Regions from separate parts of the Homo sapiens genome. Here region 2 is linked to region 1. The links are contacts of gene promoters, found by promoter capture Hi-C in blood cells and fetal thymus (Javierre and others, 2016). All regions are on one chromosome and are shown on one strand. The core of a region is centred on a gene start or on the middle of the fragment in contact, and the rest is flanking DNA. Distances in the headings are between cores, read along the strand shown.

What was found. The method cuts DNA at HindIII sites, captures the fragments that hold promoters and counts their contacts. A CHiCAGO score of 5 or more calls a contact.
Region 2: a contact is called between a fragment that was not itself captured here and the fragment with the promoter of ZBTB7C in region 1, in 1 of 17 cell types (M0 macrophages). The highest score is 7.4, in M0 macrophages.

What each region holds. Positions count from the first base shown.
Region 1 is chr18:48,407,737-48,414,374 of GRCh38, reverse strand. ZBTB7C (zinc finger and BTB domain containing 7C) reads left to right here and starts at 4,992. Exons shown (of 5, transcript NM_001318841.2): 1 at 4,992-5,149. RefSeq lists a silencer at 3,824-4,203 and enhancers at 5,474-6,091, 6,092-6,638. The HindIII fragment of the contact is 6,800 bases long and covers 4,155-6,638 here.
Region 2 is chr18:48,227,272-48,233,795 of GRCh38, reverse strand. All of the region lies in intron 2 of ZBTB7C (zinc finger and BTB domain containing 7C), which reads left to right. Among named protein-coding and RNA genes, the nearest start is that of ZBTB7C-AS2, 22 kb to the left of the region's middle. The HindIII fragment of the contact is 1,659 bases long and covers 1,924-3,582 here.

The DNA.
Region 1 (6,638 bases), core at 3,743-6,242:
AGATGACTGAGGCTTAGGAAATGCATGTTTGAAGGAGGAAGGAGCGGGATCCCAGAGAAGTCCTTTCCTGAGATTTGGGGTTGGTTCTCTCCTGTGGAGAGTCATGTCAAAAGGTAGATGAATTGCCTGTGAGGCAAGAAGGTCTCCTGAAAGCTGGGGAGCCAGGTTAGAAGCAGGGGTGTACCATCAAGTAATCCTGTATGGAGAGTTCAACCCCTGGTTGCTCTTCTCTGGAATATGAGGGAAGTCATATCTCATGCACAGCTTCAAGTTGTCCAGTGTTACATTCTAATTCCCTTGAGCTACTCCAAACCCTTTGTGAAATCTGTTATCTAGTAGAGCCTTTGTAGGCCCTGGTGTGGCAAAGAAAAAAGAGGTGTATAGAAGAGGCATGGCCTATCTCCACTAGCTTCTTCATGGGGGCTCTTGGGGATGCAGCATTTTCTTGAGGGAGATGGTAACTGGAGTCTGGGGTGAGGAGCAAAATGGTGAGGTGGGTTATGGCTGAGCTAGGGACAGCAGGATCATGCTGGACACTGAGGAAGAACTTCAGGAGGAACAGAAAGTAGAACTTCCATATTCTTGGTATTTTCTAGGGGAAGCTGGCCCCTGGAAGGGAATGGTGGTTGTATGGTTGGATTACACATGTACTTTTTTTTTTTTTTTAATGATTAATGTTGGTTATAGCTGGTGAGTGATTACAAGTGAGTTTTGATTTTTCTATATTTTCTTTGGCCCTTTTAAAGAAAATATTACTTTGACACTTGTAAAAATGGTAGGGAAGTGGTAGACTTTATTCAAGACTATTGCAATAGGAGTGTTGCAATGGCGGGGAGAGACTGGGCTCAACAAGGGGAAGTGGGGATTTATAGCCAAGGTACAGAGTAAGGGGGTCGATAGATGGAAAATTACTAAGAGGAGACATTAAGGGTAGGTGCATTCTTGCTGGACTAACCTAACAGGATTCTTGCTAAAGGCAGGCCAGGGTGCTCGGAGATCAAGGGTCAGGGGGGTTTTCACTAAACTAACTTAGAAGGATTCTTTCTACAACTGGACTTGGCTGGCTGAAGAGAGGGCCCAAGGGTGGGAGCCCAGTGGAAATGAAGCCTCAAAGGAGCCTGCCTCAAGTGTGGTCAAGGAGAAAGTCTTTGTCATCCCATATGGGCTATAAATGTATGGCCACTAAAATGAGAAAGAAAAATTAGTAAAATAAAAAATACTCTCCCAAGAGATATGATAACTAAACGCAATATGCAATCCTGAATTGAATCCTGCCTAGAATTTACTTATTTTTTCATTTTTGCTATTGGTGAGACAGTTGGTGAAATCTAAATATAGTTCAGACTAGATAATAGTGTTGTATCTATGGTTAGATCTGGATTTTGATTATTATATAAGAACGTCCTCATTGTTAAAAAACATTCACTGAAGAATTTATCAGTAAAGGAACATCATATCTTCAGCCTATGCTCAAACAGTTTAGAAAAAAAGAATATGTATATACAAAGAAACAGCAGGGTAAAGCAAACATGGGCAAATGTTGGCACATGGAGATTCTGGGTGAAGATATATGACAATTCTTTATATTATCTTTGTAACTTTTCTGTAAATCTGAAATTATTTCAAAATAAAAATTAAAAAACGAACTAAGAAAAAATAAAAAATATCATGCAAACTTAGGGACTGAGTCCAGTGCTACCTTTTCCAGGAAGGCACTTCACCCAGTCTGCCTTATGGTAGGTAATACACACCATGATTTCCTTGAATTTCTCTTCTGCTCTGATTTATTCAAAGCCTCTTCCCTCTTTCTCCTCTAGAGGCAGCATCGCAGGGGAGGATGCTCGTGAACTTCTGAACTCACGAACCTGGATCCAAATGCTGCCCCTGACACTACCCAGCGGTGGCAACATGGCCATTACCACCACTATTGATATCAGATTTTTCATCTATAAAACGGTTACAACAAAATATATTGCATACAGTTGTCATGAGAAACATATAGCAATGGAAACCGTAAGTTCTAATCTAGAAAGAGCTCTGTAAATGTTAATTCCCCTCTTTTTTCTTGAATCAGTCTTTCAACATCCTCGGGAAATAGGTAAAAATTTGATCCCAATTCTCAGATAATTTATTTAGAGTTTATCACCATAACTAATATTGACAATTTACAATGTGCTCTACAGTGCTTAATACACAGTAACCCCTTAATGAATGTTGTTCATGGGGCAACACTTGCCCTCGCCTTTTCTCACCCGACCATTCCAGCATCTCTATGGAGTAGAAAGGGACCTACTATTATCTCCCTTTTTACAGATTTGGAAATGGAGGCTTTAGAGAGTTGAATGACATGCTTTTTTTCTAGGATACATGGCTGATAACTGTTAAAGTTTGGCAGTAAATTCTATTAATTATTGCAAAGCAACGTTTACCATTGCACTTACATCCAAACTAGTACGTTGCAAATAAATCTTACAGCACTCACTGGATCTCCATGCTTACGCTATTCCATGAGCTAAAGCTATAGAACATCTACTTTGAGCCAGAGAAGAGAGGAGAAACTTTCTGATTTAGAGCCACATTTATATTAGAGTCTATTTACTATTTACTAGACTCTTTACTATTAGAGTCTAATTTACTGCCCACATCCCTCTTTTCTCAACCTAAATGCCCTTTTTATGGCTGTAGCTGCCCTCACCCCCAGAACTACATTTCTATTTCCTGCAGGTGTCTGGGCATTTGCAGGGCTGGGATCCTCTAGGTGCTCTCTAAATGCATCCGCATGCTTGGCATGAGGCGCAGCCAGACTTATGGCTTAGAAGCGGGGCCATATCAGCTGGGTCAGCAGCATTCCAAGTAACTGAAAACCCTTTAATGAAGGGAAGCAAGACAGGCAACTTAATTTAACAGAGAGACAAACCTAATATGAGAGGGCAGTGGCTGCCACAGCTGCTGAAAGCGAGATATATTATTTTGCCATTCTGGAAGCTTTAGCAACTTGGAAATCTGACATCCTGAGCCTGAACATACCTTAGGTTCCACGATAGACTATCCTAGATTTACATGTGCATTTGAATAGTTTGGATAAGATGGCTGTCCAAACTGTTCATTTGGTGAAATTTACTTAGTAGGAAAAACCAGATCTCTTTGGCAAATTAAACGTGACATAATTGTACCCAAACCCTACGTTTCAGATCCCTCTATTCATATCTAGTTTTCCACTCTTACATCCTATTCCAGAGCCCGTTTTCCCTTGTTTTCACTACTCCCAACGTACTATCTTGCAATGTGCGTTTATTACACGAATGAATGAAATGGTTTAAAAAAAAATCCCAATAAGTGATATTAGGAAGAGGCACCAAAGGTTCACAAACTTATTTTTGTGAATTCTGTAAAAAATGTCATCCAGTGTCTTCAGCATTAAAGGACACAGCAGCAGCCCCACTGCCCTTTTATTAATCCGTAGCCAGAATGGGCACTAGGCGGCCGGGATTCGCCATCTCGCCTCTCCTGGGCGCCAGGTGCGCCTCAGATAAGCGCAGCCGGGTAGGAGTTTGAGGACGACAAACTTTCCCGCTTCTGAGGGAGGAGCCCCGGAGAGGACCCGCTGACGTGCGAGGGTGCTGCCTCCGATGTACTACCAAGGAGGGCGAGGGTTCCTATGTCTGTCTGGAGCGCAGAGGGGTGGACTGCAAAAAGGTAGGAGGCAAAGCCAGCTCGAGTTTCCCCGGCCCGTAGCTGGAGGGAACATCTGCCCAAGTGTCGCCTCGCCCGAGAACGCTCACGCCCTCTCCAGGGCCAGGACCCTTCCTCCTCCCCTCGCACTGGCCCTTCGTGGCTTCCAGCACCGCTGAGCACTCGGCGTCCCAGCGAGATTCTCCTGCCCCGACAGACTCCGAGGGGGCGGGGCCCGGCGGGACGGGGCGGGGACAAGCCCTCCCCGGGCCCGCCCGTTGGCATTGTTGCGCGGTGATTGGACGCTTCGGAAGGCCGCCTTCCAGGCCGACCCGGGGAGTGACGGGCGGCCAGCGGCTGCTCCCCGGCGTGTGGGGTGCGGAGTGCGGGGCCCAAGGCTCCAGAGGGGTGGGGACTCCGGGCCGCAGCGCCGCCGAGCGCGATTGCCCGCTGAGATTCGGCGCCCCGGGGTGCGGCAAGCTTGCGGTTTCAGGTGCTGGCTAGGCGTCTTGGTGCGCTCGCTGGAGTGCCGAGAGCATTTGGGAAACTTAACTTCTCGCCCCCACTCCTTGCTCCCGACTTTCGGGTAGAAAAGCAGTTGCCGAGTTGTTTTATTTCCTCCCCCATCGGACTCTGTAAAAATAGCCGTGCGCCGGGGCGGCAGAGCCCATCTCTGCCGCACCGCTGCCCCGGGTCGGCAGAGCCCATCTCTGCCGCACCGCTGCCCCGGGTCGGGTGTGGACCTAAAAATACCCGGCGGTCCCAAGCCTGCGCTGGGGGTGCGGGCGGGTCCGGCCGGGCCGCAGAGGGCGTCAGGAGACCGGAGAAACGGCGGCCGCCTGGCCCCCTCGCCTCTGCCGGGGCTGTCCCTTTAAATCCTGGAGGAGGCAGAGAGAAAAAAGGAAAGAAAGAGAAAAGACGCGGAGCCCCGAGCGGTTGGTGGCGGTGCCCGGCCCCCCCACTCCGCCTCCGCGTCGGGTCCTGACTCCCGCCCGCAGCCTCCGCCAGTCCCGGGCGCCCCCCGCCGCGCCGCCCACTCGCCACAGTTACTGTCAAAATAGAAATTAGCGGAGCCGGGCGGGGGCTGCGGCGCAGCAAGTGCATGTGCCGCGCGGCGGGGAGGGGGCGGGCGCGAGCGACAGGCGACCGCACACATCCGGGCCCTTTAGCCCTGTGCGCCCCCCGAGCCGGCGGCGCGGGCGCGGGGCGCGGGGCGCGGGGCTGACAGCCGCGGCGCGGGAGGCGGGGCGCGGGGAGGGCGGAGGCGCGGCGCGGGGAGGGAGGAGCTGCCCGCTCGCCCGCTGCCGCCGCTCAGCTCCATACCCGCCGGCGCAGCCCCGCCACGAGACTCTGACAGCGGCGCGGCCGGCGAGGCTCGGGCGCGCAGGGACCGGCGGACACCGGCGGCGAAGGAGGACGCCAGGACTGCGTCCCGGAGCCAAGTGCGGGAGGCGCGCAGGGCCGGCGGCGCGCGGAGGTGAGCGGCTTCGCGCGCCGGGCTCGGGCGCCGGCTGCCGGGGTCGCGATCTCCACAGCACCTCGGCAGCCGAGGCAGTTCGGGAGGTCGCGGGGCGGCGGGCGGGTGGCTTTGCTTGGGCTGCGCCGGAAAGCGATTGCGGGGGCCGTTGCTAGGAGGCCGGCGGTCCGCGCGCCTTGGGGCGCCGGCTGGAGCAGGGGCGCCCTCCGCGCGGTGGGCAGGAGGCGGGGGGCTGCGGTGGCTATTCAGGGGCTCCGTGCGGCAGCCATGCAACGGAGGAGGCGGGAGGAGGGAGGGAGGGAAGGAGGGAGGGGAGAGCCAGCGGAGAGCGAGCCAGCGAGCGGGCGCCGCGCCTCCTGGCTGGCACCGCGGCCCGGAGCGAAGTGGCGCGCGGGGCTGGAAAGGAACTTCTGCGGGCGCGTGCGGCCCGGGGCTCGGCGGCGCCTGCGGGCCCGAGCGGGGCGGGCCCGTCGGCAGCCACAGGTGGTTTCTGCCAAAAGTTTTACCGCACTTCTGCCTGGAAGGCGCGGGAGCGTTTTGGTGAGTGACGTTTTCCTGGGACTTTTGCAGTCTCACTTCGCGCTGTCTTTTCTTGAAAATTGGAAAATGAGCTGGAAAGGCTGGGATCCAGCACCTCTCGATGAGATCTGAGCAGAGTACAGTCCTTGCCCGAGGTGTCGCTCATGCAGGACTCAAAGATCCTTGCTGCTGTCAAGTCGGGAAGCTGGGGGAAATGGGCGCACGCACACAGTTCCTCCAAGCCTCGGACAAGTGAAGCCGAGCCTGGCCCGGTGCCTGTCGCCGCGCGGGGTAGTGCGAGGTCTGTTCCCAGCGACACGCACGGGAACTGCGTGCGTCTTCTCTCAAGGTGTGTACGTCTCTTGCTCCGTTGAAAGCGAATTGTCTCTGGCCGCTGTGCTGCTTTGTTTTTCCGGTTGCTTGTCTGGTTTTACTAGGATGAAGGCCAGGAGGAGCCAAAGAAAAGCGAAGCGGCAGCTCCCGTTATCTTTGCAATCTGCAAAGCTGTGGAGGCTGGTACCCAACCTTCCGCGGCGCGGGCGCAAGGCCGAGGGGAGCTGGGGGTGGGTGGCGTGCGCTGCCTGTATGGGAAGTCTCGCTGGACCATGCGCAAGGCTAGAGCCGGAGTTTCTGGTGCTTCTAGGACAGAAAGAGGAGTGGGAGTGGGAAGGGAAGACCCCTTAAAAGAAGATATACTGTGCCCAGACCTGGGAGAGAGGCTCCGAGAAGTCCGGTGGCTTGGCCCTGTTCTTCATTGGCGGGGTTGAGGAATCCAGGGCAGCGAGGTAGAAACACCTCGGTAGGTCGTCCTGGGCTGAAAGAAATCATTATTCCCAGAGCGGGCCAGATACCCGGGTGTTGAAACTAGGTACAAAACTGCGTGAGAGGTGGAAACTCTCAGTCCTTCATTCTCCTTGGTCCGGTGGCTCCCGCTCCCTGCCCCCACAAGTACATGAGCAAAAAGCATGCC
Region 2 (6,524 bases), core at 1,504-4,003, 180 kb after region 1:
ATATAATTTACCTAAACATTTCCCTTTATTAAAAAAGCACAGATGAATATGGGACCTATCCCAGAAACTATGAACACCCATTTAAAAACAACATGGCTCTCAACATGCAGACCTTGATTTTCAAAAGTGCTGTCGATTTGGCTTATGTTGTAGCTGCGTTTCTGAGTACAGGTGTTTCACAAGTGTCCTTAACTGCTAGGAAGCTGGGGAAAGCAGGTGGCATCCAGTCAGCTAGAACAGGGGCAGTAATGTAGGCAGTAAGATAGCACTGACTGATTCCAGCTCACCGGTCTTCCTGTTAGGATATCCACTGTTATGTATGCTCTTTGTATTCTGGCTTTCTAGCCTGACATTCAAAGCCTTTTACAATCTGAATTCACCTCATCTTAGTCCATTTTGTGCTTCTGTAAGAGAATACCAGAGACTGGATACATTATAAAGAAAAATTTATTTCTTACAGTTCTGAAGGCTGGCAAGTCCAATATCAAGGTGCTGGCATCTTGCAAGGACCTTCTTGCTGTGTCATCTCATGGAGGAAGGTGGGGGGTGAAGGGAGAGAGAGAGCGTGCGCGCGAGAGAGTGCAAACTTGTCATTTTATAATAAACCCACTCCCACAATCATGGCATTAGTCTGTTCGTGAGAGTAGAGCCCTTATGGCCTAACCACCTCTCATTAGACCCCACCTGCCAATGCTGCATTGGGAATTAAATTTCTAATATATGCTTTTGGAGGGGACATATTCAAGCCATGACATGCCTCTCCCATTCAACATCCTTACTCCCTGCCACCTCAAAACCTGTACTCTTATATACTGTTTCACCTACATGCCCTTCTTGTTTCTGTTGTTTTGCTGTTGCTTATAGCCTTCACCTCCAACACTCAACCAGGGGGTTGGTGTTGATGGTGGCATCAAGATGGCATGCTGTTTATCTGTTCTCAATGAATTGTACATCTTAACTGGGGTACTGGGATAAAACTTATGAGATGTATGCAAATGAAACTGCTGAGAATAATAACTGGCTTATGAGCAGGAGAAGCCATGGAGAATGGAAAGCCCTACTGAATTAACTAGGAGGCAGGAGACCTAAATTTTAGTTCCAGTTCAGCCACAGACTTACTGTGTATGTCTTTCAATTACTGCAAAACTAAGTACCCCAAAATTTCATGGGTTAAAATAACAATCCATTTTATTATATATCATGATTTTGTGGATCAGGAATTTGGACAGATCTTAGCTGATGATTCTTCTGTTCCAGGTGACCTTAACTGAGGTCATATGGTGGTACTTAGCTGGCAGATGGGCTGGTCTAGAGGGTCCAGGATAGTATCACTCACAAGTCTGGCATCTTGGCAGATGTGTTAGTTTCTCGGGGCTGCCATAACAAAGTATGACAAAGTAGGTGGCTTAAAACAACAGAAATGTATTTTCTGACAGTTCTAGTCTGAAATCAAGGTATTAGCTGGGCTCTCTCTTAAGGTTATAGGGAAGAATCTTTCCTTGCCTCTTCTAGCTTCTGAGGATTAGCATCAATCATCAGTGTTCTTTGGCTGATGGATGCACCACTCCAATCTTTGCCTCTATCTTCACATTGTCTCAGGATCCTTGGAGTGTTACTTTTCTGGCTGGAAACCTCTGTGGCCAGTAGTGCCTTTGCCTGAGTTTTGCTCAGGCCTCCTGGGCTCGTTTTGCCCACTCAGCCTGGCAGGCTGTGCTCAGCTGGCACTACTGGCCTGGATCCCACGCCTGCCAAGGATGAGCCAGGTGTGGAGCAGCGAGGGGTATGTGAGCAAATGAGCATGGGGTCTGGCCACTGTGCACAGCTAAGCATGCTGGCTGCAGCAGGGTGGGCAGCACCAGGCACTGGCACAGGTACCAGCTCCCTGCAAGGCTGTGCCGGGACCAGACCCTACCACAAGAAGCTTACATGGCTGGCACTGGGGAACTTGGTGGTGCCTGGAACCGCAGAGCCCTAAAGAGGGTGTCACAGCCCTGGCTCAGGGAGCTCCTTGGTCTGGGCTTCCCAAAGGGCCGCAGCTCTTCTCTCCTTCTCTCTTCTCTCCTTTTTGGTGCCTGCAATATAATGAGCAAGGGGCATGCTTCAGCCCTGTTTGTGTTAAAGCTCTTTCAGCCCCACCATCGGTGGGTCCTGAGTTCTTGTCCTGCATCCAGGAAGAATGAAGTACGTGGACAAGTGAAGGCTGAGCAAGGCAAAAAGGTGCTCTGTTAAGCAACAGAGCAGCTCAGAGGAGACCCACAGCGTGTAGTTCCTCTCCACAGGCAGGTTGGCCTGTTGTCTGCTCAGCTCTCAGCAGAGAGGAGACCCACAGTGGGTAACTGCTCTCTGCAGGCAGTTCATCCTATTATTTTCTCAGCTCTCAGTAGAGAGTACAGTGGGTAGCTCCTCTCTGCAGGCAGGTTGTCCTGTTGTCTATCCAAGTCTGGCTGAGACCAGGGTTTTTATGGGCTTCAGAGGGGAGAAAGTGCACTCTGATTGGTCTATGGGTGGCCATGGGAGGGTCCAGAAAAAGCACCATAAGTTCTCACTCTGGTCTGTGGAAATGGCAGCCTGGCCCCCAGGCCTCAGGCTGTCCCTGGCCTGAAGGTGGGGTTTCACCAGGGACCTGCACTTTTTACCCAGGAGCCTGTCTGCCTCCTGCTACCATTAACCGGCCATCCACAGTGCCAGTGCGCCCAGGCTGTTAGTGCCAAAGGTGCCTGCAAGCCTGCACCAAGCCACCCTTAGCACCCCTTCAGACTCCCTCCCGTTCTCCTTGGCACCCAAAGTCCAGAGGGGGCCGAGGCAGCAGGGGTCTGGTGTGTCAGTTCTGGCCTGAGCATGCACATACCCAGCTGGCTTGTGACAGCTCCCAGGCTTGGCCACAACTTTGCTCCAAAATCAGAGTGGGCACCAGGAGCAGGGAGAGGCCAGGCAGCGGGAGCAGGCACTTCTGAGCCTGTAGGGGCAGGGGGCTTTCCGTGCAGAGATGCCTGGGTCTGCACTCTCACTCTGCACCTTCCCCTAGCAGTGTTTGTTAACTCTTCCTCTATGGCGCCATGCTGCTGGCCTCAGGCTGCCCTTTCGCCTTGGACTATCAGTAGCTGCACAGCCCCACCCACTGGCAGCTCACATCCTTGCACCAGATGTGATGATGTCTTCACCTCTTCCCATCCTATGTCCATCCCCTTCCAGCATGTTCAATTCCATTCTCTTCAACAAACCTGAGCTGAGCACCAATTATGGCCAAAAATCTGTCCCAGGCATGGGAGCAGCACACCTGTCATGGTGCTGGGAAACTTCTAGGAAGATCCCATAGGCATCATTTTAGTTCAGTGGCTTTATTTTTTTAGGGGAAACTGAGGAGCAAGGAAAAGGAATACACAGGGATTCCGTCTGAGAGCTGTGTTTAAGCCCAACTGTCCTGTTCAGGCCTTGCTTCCAGCTCCCAACCAGCTTCCCACTGGGTTGCTTTCAGCTAGGTTGGGGCAGACATCCTGCAAACACTGCTGAAACTAGTCAGCAAGAATCCCTGAACAGGGGATAAACCTTGCTGTGTTGGGGAGAGGACTGGTGGATGAAGCTTTCAAGCCTTCTTCAGGGGAGTGTTGTTTGATGAGCCTGTAAGAAGGAATGTTGATTCCTGCACTTAGTTTCTCTTTTTGGCTAATCTGCACAAAGAAACATTAATGATTTTAATTATGGGGTTGGGTTAATACATCATGTAAATGATTTTATTTAGAAAATGCAAACTAATCCCCTTTGCAGAAAGGCTCTGCTTCGAGGCCCTCCCACCTGTTTGCCTCACTGGGCAGGAGGGAGGGAGGTGGGGGTGGCTGCCTCCCAGGCAGCCCCCTGCTTCCCGGAAAGCAGAGCCTGCCAGACAACCTGCAGGGCACATTCCCCACCACGTGGAGGCCAAAAGGAAAGCCTTGTTCCCCCTTGGCCACCCCCTCAGTGCCCCACACCTGCCCCGCTCCTTGGACTGAAGGCCTATGAGGGAGATGGACAGTCAGGAAGGCTGTCCAACTCCCCCACGTCTTCCTCGGGCCTCCCTGCAGACTCTTCGACAATTCCCGCCAACAGAGCTGATTATTCCTCAATTTGTTCCAACCTGGAAATAAAGACAGATAAAGTGAAAATATTCTGGGAACAATGCCAAGCCAAAGGCATTAAATTATTAAGCGATCTCTATCTGAGTAATGGATTTATGCCCTTTAACAACTTTAAAAGAAATATAATGTTTTTCATACCCTCTTTTAGGGAACTTCTTATAAATGAACTGTCCATTTTATTAGTATTAAAGGAAATGGGGATTGAATCAGAGCTTCTAGGGCAGGCGATTATCTGCAGATTTCTCCTTAGAGCTGGGAAAATTAACAACATGGAATTATCCACACATTTTTTTTAAAGGGCACTTTACAAGATATTGTACAGTAAATTGGAAAATGTATAACTATCCATCAAGGTAAATCTTGGGAATAAAATAATTAGAAACCACACAACCATGGCCAGGGAAGATTAGAGCTAAAATTAGACTGTGTGGCTGTTTTTTGAAGTCACCAGAGTGGGTGCTGATGGTGGAATGGGGCAGGAAGGCTGGTGGCACACAGCTCAGGCAGAATGTCGGGGTCTGGGGCAAGCTGCCTGGGCGGGCACGTGGCAGGGGGAATCTTGGCATTTTGATGAGATTTGAGCGGGACGAACATGCTGTTTTGACTGGGATCTGGCACTGTCTTGTTTTTCCGCCTCCCTTCCCATGACCCCGGCTGTCTTCACCTCCAGCCTCGCACAATCCTGCCGTGCTTATGTTTCCAGATGGTTCGAGGCTCTGTGGCTGCCACTGGAGAGCCAGCTGGAGTCCTTTTGTGAGGGAAGGAGAAGAGAGAAGGGAACAGAAATATCCTTGATGTTAAAGTCTAAAGTGAGAGTGTGTTTGTGTATGAGAGGGTGTGCACACCTGCACAAGTGGGGGCGTAAGGGTGCATGGGGGTGTGTTCATGTACGAGTGTGTATGAGCACGAGTGTGTGTGTGTGTGTGTGTGTGTGTGAGAGAGAGAGAGAGACAGAGAGAGAGAGACTCCCTCTGAGCTGAAAGGCCTCTGGTTTTTGCTTCTACTCAGAGCCTCCTGACTCCTGGCATGCAGGGAAGGGTTGTGGGCAGGCAGGGGGGCGGCAACCACAGTGGGCAAGGACTACTGCCCTTCTTCCTGCTGCAGCCTCCACCCTTGGCAGCCACTCTCAGGCTGGTGGGTGGAGCAGTGAGGAGGGGTCCTACTGGGGAGGAGGATGCAGGGGTGAGAGACAGAGAGGCCCAAGAGGATGTGCCCCACCCATCCGCAGCAAGGCCAGCAGTGCCATAACCTTCTCTCATAGCAAGGACCCAGTGCTGTCTGTGCCAGGCAGATTGCAACATCCTCCTGGCCAGAGGCAGGCTTGGGAAGGGATTTGCTCTCAGGGCTCACCCTTAACAAAATCATCTGTGGTCAGAACCAGCAATCAGTCTCGTAGTCTGCCTCTCCCATGAGGAACTGAGGCCCGCACAGGTGAAATGTGAGGATGTGAGTGGAGGACCTGTTGGTTATCACTCTTGGGACTGCTATTTATTGCCTGCAGTCATACTCTCCAGCCAGGTCCTGTCTCCCCAGCTCGGGAGCCATGCCATTGAGCATGCTTCCTGCCCCATCTAACTTGCTTAATGGCAACCTGTTCATTCAGGGAGACGCTGGAAGCATCCTCCAGGTGGGGCGGCCTCTCCATCACCTTTTTGCCCCACTCACCTCTCTCTCTTTGATGCCCATCCCTTTCCTCCCATTGCTACATTGCAGAAACACCTGCATTGGACTTTTCATATGGAATGAGAAGTTATGCTCTTTAGTGTACCACTTACCCCTTGTAACAATGTTTCACCCAAACTCCTGCCCTCTCACTCTGAGAGGGAGAGAAGGAGAGGACAAGGGGACCCTCCATGTCTGCAAAAATTATAATACCTTCCAGGCAGCCTATAATTTTTCTTTTCTTAATTTCCCAATGTTTCCTATTTCGTTGCTAGAAGGCAAAGACTAGTCCAGCAATCTCCAGTGAAAATTTTTGTGGTAAGGCAGGGTTTGGTAAAACAGGCTTCCTGTTTAGGACCTGAAAGAATTAGCAAAACTCTAAAAGGTGGTCAGTTTATTTCCTATTCACTATAGGCTTCATTACAGTAATGACAGTGTAAACAATCGTTGACACTTTTGGGGTCATTTGAAATTCCTGTGGCAAAGGGAGACTAAGAGCAAACAGAAAGATGAGACTTGAAGGTAACCCACAGTGTTGGGCGGAGGCCGTTCCAAGTAAGACAATGACACATCCTTCTCCTTAGTGACTAGAGGACGGCAGAAAGGAAGAGGGTGGAGCAGCTTGCTCAGCCACAAACCCCCAGAAATGTACCTGCCCAGAAGGATGGAGCGAGAATTCAATGGGAGGAGGCTTTTGAAGGTGCCCTCTAAACTGCCAGGCCGTACACATGTGAATCAGCTGCAGCAGCA